3 separate regions of the Homo sapiens genome follow, and regions 2 and 3 are each linked to region 1. The links are contacts of gene promoters, found by promoter capture Hi-C in blood cells and fetal thymus (Javierre and others, 2016). All regions are on one chromosome and are shown on one strand. The core of a region is centred on a gene start or on the middle of the fragment in contact, and the rest is flanking DNA. Distances in the headings are between cores, read along the strand shown.

Region 1 (3,708 bases), core at 183-2,682:
GAAGGCTAGTGGAAGGTAACTTTAGAGAAGTAATACAGGCCTGATTCTGAAGGGCGTCCTCGGCCTTGGACCTAGAGGAATGGAAGCCATTAGACAACGCTGAAAAGACCTGACTTTGGTACACAGAAGTAAAGCAATCCTATTAAAATTACATATGTAATATTTATATAAAATTATATATGTAATATTACTTATATATGTAATATCTAAAATTTAAGCTAGTAAAAGGAATGGATTATCTGCCGGGTAACTGGAAACCTGCTTATGAGAGAGGTTAGAACTAAGGGACTAGAGATTCACAGACATGGGAATGAGTCTGGGAGAAGAATTCACAAAGAAAAAGAGTTTAAATCCTAGGGATCAGTGAATCATAGGGATCAGTCCAATGTGGAATTCTTCAGCCAGGGAAGGAAATGGAGAAACAGGCATCAAGGATGTAAGAATTCAATTTGAAATGATTGATTGCATCGCCCTCCCCATCAGGCAGAGCATGAAGAACATGAATGATCCCACTGAAGCAGGGCGGGCAGCTGGGATTCTCTCACAGTGGGAATGAACATTAGAAATGGTGTAAGTTCAAACAGCCCCAATCCTATGCTGTGGATAACTGGATATCCCTAGGGAAACAGACCACAGAAAATAATAATCATGGGGAAGTACATCCTAAGACACAACACCTAACACCAGCCCAGGACAAAGGCACCATAAAAATTCCATGAGCGAGGGTCTGTTTACTTTCTCAGAGTAAATGTTAGTAACATGAACTATACATTTATAATGTTTTAAGGTTTAGAAGCCACTTTACGTCTGACTATATCTGATTAAAGATCGTAGTCGTTGGACTGGGCAGATGCAAACTAGAAAATCACCATTAAGGTGAAATGTGTCCATGTCTGTCTGTCACTCGCTGTCTGTATCATTTCCGGGGCCATGAAGATGTGGCTTTAACCAGAAGTATTTGAGATATGCCTCTTTCTTAGGAAAGCTATGGCCTTTCTAACTGCCTGAGAGGGCTATGAAGAAGAGGAGGGGTGGCAGATTCACCCATGGGAGCTGAACACCCAAAGCAAGAAAATCAGGGGCTCTGGGAAAGGAAGTGAGTCAAGACAAGCAAGAGAGAAGGATGAGAGCGAGCACCTCCAGGATCTGGTTTACCAGAGAAGACAAGCTGCGAGGAGGCCACTAAACTTCTGCCCTGGCACAGTTTGCTGCAGGGAGGCAGCCCCAGAACTAGTGGTGAGGTCGAGGGGCTAGGCCAGGGGAGGGACGGACAGGCAGAGGTCCCTTACTCTTTCGATTTATCCGATCCGTGCGCCGAGTTGATACGATGCACCTCTTTCTTTTTGGTTTGTTTGGAGGCCATGGCAGAAGCCGATCTATGTAGGGCTGAGCTCTGAGCAAAGAGCCTGCGGGCGCGCTCGGCTCCGCGTCTGCGTTGCCAGGAGACGGCGTCCCGCGTCCAGCGCCCGGAGAGCGGGGGCGGGGCCCTGGGGGCGGGCTCTGCGGCCTGTGGCTGCAGAGGGACGCAAGAGCATAAACTGAAATCCCACATCCCCGTGGAGGAACTTGGAGTTGGTGTCTGGGGAGAAATCGAGGTTCTGGGGCACGGGTTTGGCATTAGGATTACTGGGCAGCCCTGATTAATTGGAGTTCTGCAGGACCTACACTGCCTGGCTTTGCCCTTCGGAACCATAGACATATATCGACTCTTGAATATCCAACTATTTGAACGTAGATGTTATCCTAGTACCACCCCAGTTATTCTCTTGGCTAAATATAACAAGTACCTTCAATAATTACTAAGGAGACATTACAGACACGCTGAAATTGTCAATGGCTTGAAAACCTGGGGTCCAGAAATTAACACAGTGGGTGTAAGGAAGGCAAAATAATGACACCTTGAGTCGCTGAGGGCTAGGTGATGATATCTGTAATAAAACCAATAAGGTGTCTTGTTGTTCGAATGAAAGAGTGAGTCCAAGTCATGGGCTCAGGTGGTCCTTTGCAGACTTTCCAGAAAAGGTCCAGGGGCCAGATGACACAGACAGAACCAAGTAAAATGAAACTTATTAGGGCGCAGGCTTAAGGCTCAGTCATCAGTGGTGATTTGTTAGTTATCTTGCCTTGGGCTAGTTTTTCCCTTTGAGTCTCAGTTTACTCACTTATAAATAGGAGATGCCTATTACTCACTTATAAATAGGAGTTATACCTAACTCACAGTTCTGTTTTGAGGATAAGATGCAAAGCGCAGCAAATAGGAGCCACTCTTTCAGAGATGACAGACCACCTGGTTTCGAGGAGCAGCAGACAGCGTGAATGAATGAAGTTGGCCAGGTAAATACAGAGTAGTGGATACTATGCTTAACTGAGACATGCTTAGACTGCAAGAGCTTGCAAATTTATCAAAACAAAACAAAATATTGTGTTGGTTCAATATAACCTCACTTCAGAGATATCTGACACACAGCCCTTAGGCCTAGGACCACTACTACTGGTTGGTGTCTTTCATGAGCCTAGAAATAGTTAAGTATCTTTAAATAAAAGAAATCCCCTCCACTCATGGGACTGGGCACATGCTCACAGTTCCACCTGTGCAGGCAAGAGGCAGCTTCCTGCAGAGAAAATCTTTCAACTTCTCTGACAAATGAATGCTCAGGGCTCTCCACTCAGCATAGCCTATGGTTTGTCAGACTATCCCAATCTTATTACTATTGGATTACTACTGGGGGTTACCTAGATGACAGACAGCCCCTTCGTTGTATTTCTATATGCAAAATAAATAAATTCCAAGTCAGCAGTGTTAATATTATGACTACAAGACTGCCCTGCAAACATCTCCTATATATGTAAAGACAATGAACACATCATGAAGATTCTGCTTTGTTTATACCATAATTCAAATTTCCAGAGAACTCTCTTGAATGAAAGTAGAGGACTAAATGGTGAGAAAAATTATTTACTACCAAATTTTGTCAGAGTAATCAAATTTATAGCTATAAGTATATACAAAGACTCTTGGCTGAAAACAGCACAACTTTAAGCAGCCAACCCCACAGAGAGGTGAGTTTCTTCTTGAACAAGGGCTATCCTGCAGCCATTGTTAATGGCTGCAAGATGCCAAAAGAATTAGGGAAGATAAGCCTTAGAAATCAAAAGATCTACATCCCACCGGTATTTTATGGACAAATAACTCCAGGCGAAGACAAGCAAAATGTCTTGCCAAAAGTTGCTGGGTTATTTATTGATGGAATTTGGACTAAACACATTAAAGTCAGCATTGCCAGTTTAAGCCAAACATATCACTACTCCACTCAGAGCTTGCTTTTTAAACATCTATTAAATTAGGATAAAGTAAGGGGGTTGTCACCAGAATGGAATAAGATAATCATAAAAGATGTGACGAGTATAAGTTGCCTATTAATTCCTACGCCAGTGTTCTTTCTCCTTTATTATATTAAGAGTGCAACATGCATAAATGGAATTTCTCTTCTTTCTGGAGCTAAGGTTCTGGTCAGGCTGTAATTATAAGAGCAAATCTGTTCCTCTCTAAGATAGTTCTAGCTACAAAGCTTAACATGATATTTATTGTGGCAGTGCAAAAAAGACAATAGGTCCTACTGCTGTTTTTATTTTTCTTATAACTGTTGTCAATGTCACTTTGGAATAATAATAATAATAGCTGTGATTTATTGAGTACCTACTACATGC
Region 2 (3,708 bases), core at 879-3,378, 290 kb after region 1:
CCCGGCTAATTTTTTGTGTTTTTAGTAGAGATGGGGTTTCAGTGTGTTAGCCAAGATGGTCTCCATCTCCTGACCTCTTGATCCGCCCACCTCGGCCTCCCAAAGTGCTGGGATTACAGGCGTGAGCCACCGCACCAGGCCTAAATATTCTTAACAGTTACTGTAACAATTGCATCAGCAGAAAGATCCTTCTCAAAATTAAAATAAAAAATTATGTGTGATCTTGCATTTTCCAAGAGCAAATGATAACATTCTCAATCATATGTAATGAAAATGAGGTTACTAAAAGTATAAATTTCAATCACCTAATAAATAAGGTTCCAGAAAATAGAGCAGGAAAAATCATATGATCAATCAAAACAGCACATTAACAAAGTATTGTTACCTATCATGCTATGTAAAACTACGAAACCAAAAGTATTTTTTTTCACAATTTGTAAGTTCATGCTGTTACTCATGTATCACTGTTACTATTATGTTTATAAGAAATAAACTATTTTAAACAGAAAAATGTATATTCTAGTACCTGTATTGATACATGAACTGTGGCTAGTGAAACTGAGGAACTGAAGGTTTCATTTCACGTGATTTTCACTGATTTAAATTTAAATACAAATAGACACATGTGGCTAGTGGCTAACACATTTGGCAGTGCCAATCAAAAGTGTTAATAAGAGATAGGTAGGCCAATATTGTGCCTATTGAATAGTTACTCTCAGAGCTTCATCTGTGTGATAATCAGATTTGTCTGAGAAATTATAAGGTCCAGATGAGACACACAGTCAGTTCACTTTCATTCTTCCAACTAAGATATATAAACACTTCTAAGACTTGTAAAACCTATTCCCATAAAGCAACTTATAACAGCACTGTATGAGAACATATGACTGTTTTATTTTGAGAGTATTTGTTTGACTAAGCTATAACTGTACCTCATTTTTTCAGCACTTCCTGTATGCACAGCAGATTTCCTAAGTGGAATAGTTTAACTGCCTAGGATCAAGGGGGCTTTAAAATTCTTTTGATTGCAGGATCTATAAAACTTTTTGGCTTTGCTCGACGAGATCCTGGGTGCAATATTGCACCATTCTTCTTATGATGGGAAAAGACTGAGCATTCTACTATTGGGTTGAGGAATTATGTCCCATAATTTAATTAAACCAACTATTGCTCCATGGATTACAAAGCTATGAATACCTTTATCAGTTATCAATTGCCCCAAAAAAGCCGCATAACAAACCATCCCAGGGCTTAGTGGTTTAAAACAATAATAATTTATTTAGTTCATGAATCTAGGAGTCAACTAGGAAGTTCTGCTGCTCTGAGTTGGACATAACTCATCTCAGCTTGGCTCACTCAGGCGTCAACTGTCAGGTGGTGGGTTGGCCAGGGACTGGCTGATCTAGGACATTCTCAACTGAGAGGTCATCCTGTTTCTGATCCATGTTATTTCTCATCTTCTACCAGATAAATTCAAGCTTATTCATATGGCTAAGGTAAGGTTCCAGGAAAGAAAATGAGAGTAGGTCAAGTCTCTTAAGGCCTAAACTTAGAGTTAATAAATGGTAAGGTCAATTCAGATTCAACAGGTAGGGAACAAAACTCTACCTCTCGAGGAGAGATGCTACAAAGCCATATTTCAAAGAGCATGGATACAAAAAGGGGTGAAGAAATGTAATGTCTTCCACAAACCCCAACTAATAATACCAACTTCTGGGTTGAAAGCAAATGATATTCTTCAGGAGTGCATATTGACATTTGGGTCAAACTTCCCAAGATAAAGAGAAGTTATTACCAAAGGACCTAATGGGCTGAAGTAAACTGGAACCCATCTCAGTTTATGGAACATCTTAATCTGGATCAAACTCTAATGGACTGATCTTATCTGGCCTTATAAAATAAGTTAATTCCAAGTGGAGTCCATAAAATTTGAAACCTAATAAGGCAAATATATTATGAAAATTAGTATCAGTCTAAAATTGTGAATGGCAGCCTCCAAACTATTGGAGTAAGAGTCCCCTTGCTTCAAAGTCTTAAAATGTTTTCACTAGACTAGCTATCATCATCTTACCAGTCCTGAGCTGTTGGTGAGAATTAGATACCAGCCAGATTCTTTCATTATGTCTTCTAAAATAGCCAAATGTAATATAGACTAATTTTAAAAGTCATTGTGTCCATCTGTTCTCAATTGGTACAAAGAATATGGAGAGAAAATAAAATAATGGCTATAACTTCACTGAGGTGTGAAAAAGGCTGATAAGGACAGAATAAACCCCATGAACTCATACAGTTAATATACTGCTAGCCGGAGCAAATATTAAGTATGCAAATATTGCCATATTGCAAGAAAATGCAGTTTATATTTTTAAGGGACCCCAAATTTATCAAGTTATTACTAATAATTATATTTAGGAATCTACTGTAAAGGAACAATCCCAAAACAGTAACAACAACTGTGAAAAATCTGTGTATCATATTCAGTGCTTTTTTTTTTATGTAAGAAGGAAAATTAAAAGTCGTCTAAATGACTGACAACATAAGAATGGCCAGTAGTTATAGTATTTTAACTGGTTAGAATATTATGGAGCTTTTAAAATGGTGGTTATAAAGACCATGAAGCAACATCAAAACTATGTAAAATATAATCCTGAGTGAAATAAGATAGAGAATTGTATGCACACTGTGATGATAATTATGCAAAATAAAATGAAAAGAATGCATAGAGTTTCAAGCAGCGTTAGTAGGAGCTGCCTTTTGGAACTCCTTTTCAAAAGCTTAAAAATGTTCTGTTTTTTTTTTTTTGAGACAGAGTCTCGCTCTGTCACTCAGGCTAGAGTGCAGTGGCGCGATCTCGGCTCACTGCAACCTCTGCCTCCCAGGCTCAAGCGATTCTCCTGCCTCAGCCTCCCGAGTAGCTAGGATTATAGGCACCCGCCACCAAGCCCAACTAATTTTTGTATTTTTAGTAGAGATGGGGCTTCACCATGTTGGCCAGGCTGGTCTCGAACTCCTGACCTCAAGCCATCTGCCCACCTTAGCCTCCCAAAGCACTGAGATTACAGGCATGAGCCACCATGCCCAGCCAGAAATGTTTATATCTCTTGATTAAACTTCTAGAAATTTAACTTCTAGAAATACAACTTAAGAAAATTATCCAAATGTAAAAAAAGAAAGTTTAGAATGAAAATTTTTTTATTATATCACTGCAACATTTTTGAAAATTGTGAATAAGCAAAAACAGCCTAAATAGAAAGAATGAAATGCCTAAATTATAGCTTATGTGAATGCAAAATGTTAAGCAGCCATTAAGAATAAAAGAATTTAACGACAAAGACAAATGTATCAATGTATAAAACATTTCTTTTAATACAGCAATATATAAAATAATATTAATACATAATTTAAAACTATATAGAGAAAGATGAAAACATGCCAAAATTTTAACAGTGACTAATGATGTTTAGATAAGAGCAAATTCTTAATTCTCTTCAGCTTTCTAATGCTTCTGTATATTTCCAAGTGCATGCAATAGCATATTAAGCACGTATTACTTTCATCATCAGAAAAAAATTATAAAAGACTGCATGGGAAAATATAAGAGAAAATATCTATATTGGCACTAACTATGTAAGGGTGATTGATTAAAGATTGTTGTCTTGTTTTTTCTAGTTTCCACATCCTGGGATGTAGTTAAGTTAAACTTACAAT
Region 3 (3,708 bases), core at 696-3,195, 260 kb after region 1:
CTCTTAATGTCTGTGGAAATAAAATGAGTGTGTATAAATGGAAAAAATGAAAGGGAAAAGTTCAGATTATTATTTTAGTCTGAAACTATGAGATGTTCTTCAAGTCCCTTAAACATAGAGCAAAAATTATGTTCCATGTTAAGGTTGTGAATTGAGTTTGGGTGGAAGGGAATTGTTGAATGCTCATGTCCATTCAGTTATTTGATGGGATGAAAATGTCAGCACCTGATATAATAGGAATTTTTACTTGCTTCTAGAATAAAATTAAAATGAGAATGCCAGTTCATTCTTTGAAGTTATTCAAGAGAACAAGAATTTAATACCACAGTGATTGCATTTCCATTTGGAAAATTGCCTACTTAGCTGTTCATGGAGTATGTTTCATATGTCTAACTCTGTGCTGTTTGTATAGAATACAGTCAAACTTTGTGGGTCCAACTATAAGGACAAGGATTTAAGAAATGCTGCAGTCACTGTGGCATCCCAGGGAAGATTTATGGAGGAGGCTGGGCATAAGATGGCTATTAAGCAAGAATAAGACACAGAGTAGAGAAGAGAAGAAGGAGGAAGGGGCTGCTAAGTAGCATTGGTATTGATAGTGGTGCAAACAGAGAGGAGATACCGAGTGTGGAGGGGGCAGGGCAGATCCAAGCCTTTATGAACTTGGTTAATAAAGAGCTACTCTGGGCTTCTATAACTTGTACCCCCATAACATTCCACTGCAGGAAGCCAGGGAATAATAACAGATATTTATTGAACTTTAACAAATCAGAGGGCTTTAGATTTGAAGCAATAAGTCAAAGGGAGCTCCTATAGACGTTTAGCATAGACAGGCTCAGTGGACTATCATTTCTTTGAAGGCCTTATCTGCTAGATGGTGTTCAGTCCACAGTGACTATTTTAAACATACATAAGCTCATGAGTCCTACTCTAAGCCATAGACATGCAAGAGGCCCTGAGAAGGATGTGTGAACTGTGGAGGCAAAGAAAGCAAAGTTAACACTCTCTTTTTAGCTGGGGCTTGGGCCCCAAACCAAATTCAGAATTCAAACGGGATAAGATAGACCACATAGAGGACTTGTTGGGGCTGAGCTTGTTAGATGCAAGTAACTTCAACCCTGCTCTGTCTTTTCCATGCCAGTCTTAGGAACCTTTGAGCCTGGATTATATCACCATTGAAAAAGCCGATTCATAGCATACCTGCCATAGCCCAGTAAAATGGAGCCATTATAATTCGTGGTAAAAATATATTAGCATTTATCTAATATTTGACCTGTTGGAGATTAGGAATATAGGAAGTTTTTATTTTTCCTGTTTGCACACAAATATTTCTAGCATTGCATAACGTGATCATTTCCTTGGTATGAATCATTTGCAGTAAAATTGTTCGATTAAGACGTTTCTTTAGACTCTTGATCCATATTGGAAAATTTCCCCCCAGGAAAAATCATAGCATGTATTTTACCATCAGCTGCATATCTGAGCACCCATTTTACCACATCCTGACCAGCAGTAGATACTATCATTTTGTATAATATATGCCAGTTTGACAAGTGCAAAATTATTCTTTTTGTTTTCTTTAGTTACTAGGGGAAGTAAATCATTTTCTTTTGGGGGAATTGTGTATTCCTGTTTGTGGCCTCATTATTTTAAAATTATAATGATAACATTTATTATAGTATTTTCAAGTCGTTATAATTTTTTCACTTTTGTTAATTTCCTGTAAATAAACACAAAATTTGAGTCTGATTCACCAAGTACATCATTGTGCTGTATCTTTAGAAGAGAGATTTCCTGGCAGGGAAGAAGCTGGAAGCAGCGCTTTTTGAATTTCTGCCACAGCACACAGACCCTGAATTTCATGAGAAGGCCAAGTCGTGTGCAGGCAGCAATCCCAGAGACTAGGAAGCTGGCTTAATATCCCTATCCCTTACTTTCCATATATAGTTTAGTTCCTTTGTTTACTCTGTCCAAAGAACGTTTTAGGAATATATCCCCCAAGTGATTTGATTGAAACATTTAATTTCATTATTAGTTGGCCAAATATGTAAAAGCATTTGATAGCCTCTTGTGATTTTCCAATTTTTTAAAAAATTAAAAGTGGAAAAGTATTACAAAGAAACAGGCACAGAGAAGTAAAAGCATTCCTGAATTTATATGGATTATCACCAGGCAGAACCTGGGACATGAGAGAGACTGGGAGAGGCTGGGTCTGGGCAGTGGGCTGCCAGGTTCTGCTTCAGAAGTGTAGTCCTGAGGCAGACACTTGCCCAAGGAGTACTGCCTGGACTGCTGTACCGCACATCTCCACATCTCCAGAGGTCACCATCACCATCCACAGAAAACATGATGATAATGGTGCCCTTGGAGTTCTGTGGTGTGGAAGCCCTTCCTGAAACCAGGAAGAGGGACAGGCAAATAAGTTCAGCAAGAAAGCGAAAAACCAGGTTGGGACCTTGGAAACAGGAAGTAAAGGAAGAGTCATGCAGACACAAACACCTGAGGGTACCCAGAGTGGGCAACCTTTCAATGGCAGGCCCCAGGGCAGGACATCACTCTTTAGGAAAAGCATTATTCAGAACAAGTTTTTAATTAGTTGTGGTATCATAGAAGCTACCAAGACAGGGACTCAGGCACAAAAATATACAGAGTCGGGTACTGGAACTGGGTTCAAGATGGGACTGTGTCTTGGCATCAAATCAGAAGAGTTGCCAATACTGGAGAAAGGGAAAAGCCAGGAGGTCAAGGCGAGGAGCAAAGGTAACTCTTGTTGAGTGGAGAGATGTAGCCAATACTTTTGGTGACCAGCCTAGACCACCTTTTCAACTAGAACACTCACAGCACAGCTGATGGAGTGTTGCTAAAATCAACCCACAGCTGCCATCTTCTGTGAGGAATTGCTCTCAGGCGAACAGGAAATGCCTCATCAGGAAGACTCTGTTCCCCCATCGTTTGCTGTATGCCAGAACTCAACCAATGATGGATAGTGGAGTTCAAAAGCCTGGACCCCTTGCTAACTCTCAGTCAATCTGTGTTTCAGAGGATTTCCTGGAATCAGATTGCAGCTTCTCTCCAGCTGAGACATTACTTAACTTACTCCCCAGTCTTAGCTTACTTCCTCTCCTCTTGACAGCACGCCTCAACAAATCATTAGCAAAGGAATCTCTGCCTCTGGCTCTGCTTCTTGAGAACTCAATTTAAGAAAGAATGGATGGCCTAGATTCTACTACACCATAATGCTCAGGCTCAAGATACTAACACTCTTTCCAACTCTCCCACTCCACATCCAAACTGATTGTGAGGTGTATTAGTCCATTCTTAAGCTCCTATAGAGACATACCCAAGACTGGGTAATTTATAAAGAAAAAGAGGTTTAATGGATTTACAGTTCCACATGGCTGAGGAGGCCTTACAATCAAGGCAGAAGGTGAAGGAGGAGCAAAGGCACATCTTACATGGACACAGGCAGGAGATCATGTGCAGGGGAACTGCCCTCTGTAAAACCATCAGATCTCTTGAGGCTTGTTCACTATCACCAGAACAATATGGGAAAAATCTGCCCCCATGATTCAATTACCTCCCACCAGGTCTCTTCCTGGACACGTGGGGATTATGGGAGCTACAATTCAGGATGAAATTTGGGTGGGGACACAGCCAAACCATGTCATGAGGTATTTAAAAAATTATAAGCATTGTACTCTTTTAATG

The links. Contacts are between HindIII fragments. The CHiCAGO score rates a contact against its expected background, and 5 or more counts as called.
Region 2: a contact is called between a fragment that was not itself captured here and the fragment with the promoter of ADGB in region 1, in 1 of 17 cell types (M0 macrophages). The highest score is 7.3, in M0 macrophages.
Region 3: a fragment that was not itself captured here is called in contact with the fragment with the promoter of ADGB in region 1 in 1 of 17 cell types (M0 macrophages); the score reaches 5.5 in M0 macrophages.

What each region holds. Positions count from the first base shown.
Region 1 is chr6:146,596,696-146,600,403 of GRCh38, reverse strand. ADGB (androglobin) reads right to left here and starts at 1,432. Exons shown (of 36, transcript NM_024694.4): 1 at 1,290-1,432. The coding sequence starts at 1,363. ADGB-DT (ADGB divergent transcript) reads left to right here and starts at 1,473. Exons shown (of 3, transcript NR_125860.1): 1 at 1,473-1,571; 2 at 2,233-2,334. RefSeq lists a silencer at 1,337-1,631. The HindIII fragment of the contact is 3,644 bases long and covers 1-3,571 here.
Region 2 is chr6:146,308,493-146,312,200 of GRCh38, reverse strand. The region is part of intron 3 of GRM1 (glutamate metabotropic receptor 1); the gene reads right to left. Among named protein-coding and RNA genes, the nearest start is that of RAB32, 230 kb to the left of the region's middle. The HindIII fragment of the contact is 1,296 bases long and covers 1,481-2,776 here.
Region 3 is chr6:146,335,733-146,339,440 of GRCh38, reverse strand. The region is part of intron 3 of GRM1 (glutamate metabotropic receptor 1); the gene reads right to left. Among named protein-coding and RNA genes, the nearest start is that of RAB32, 210 kb to the left of the region's middle. The HindIII fragment of the contact is 5,315 bases long and covers 1-3,708 here.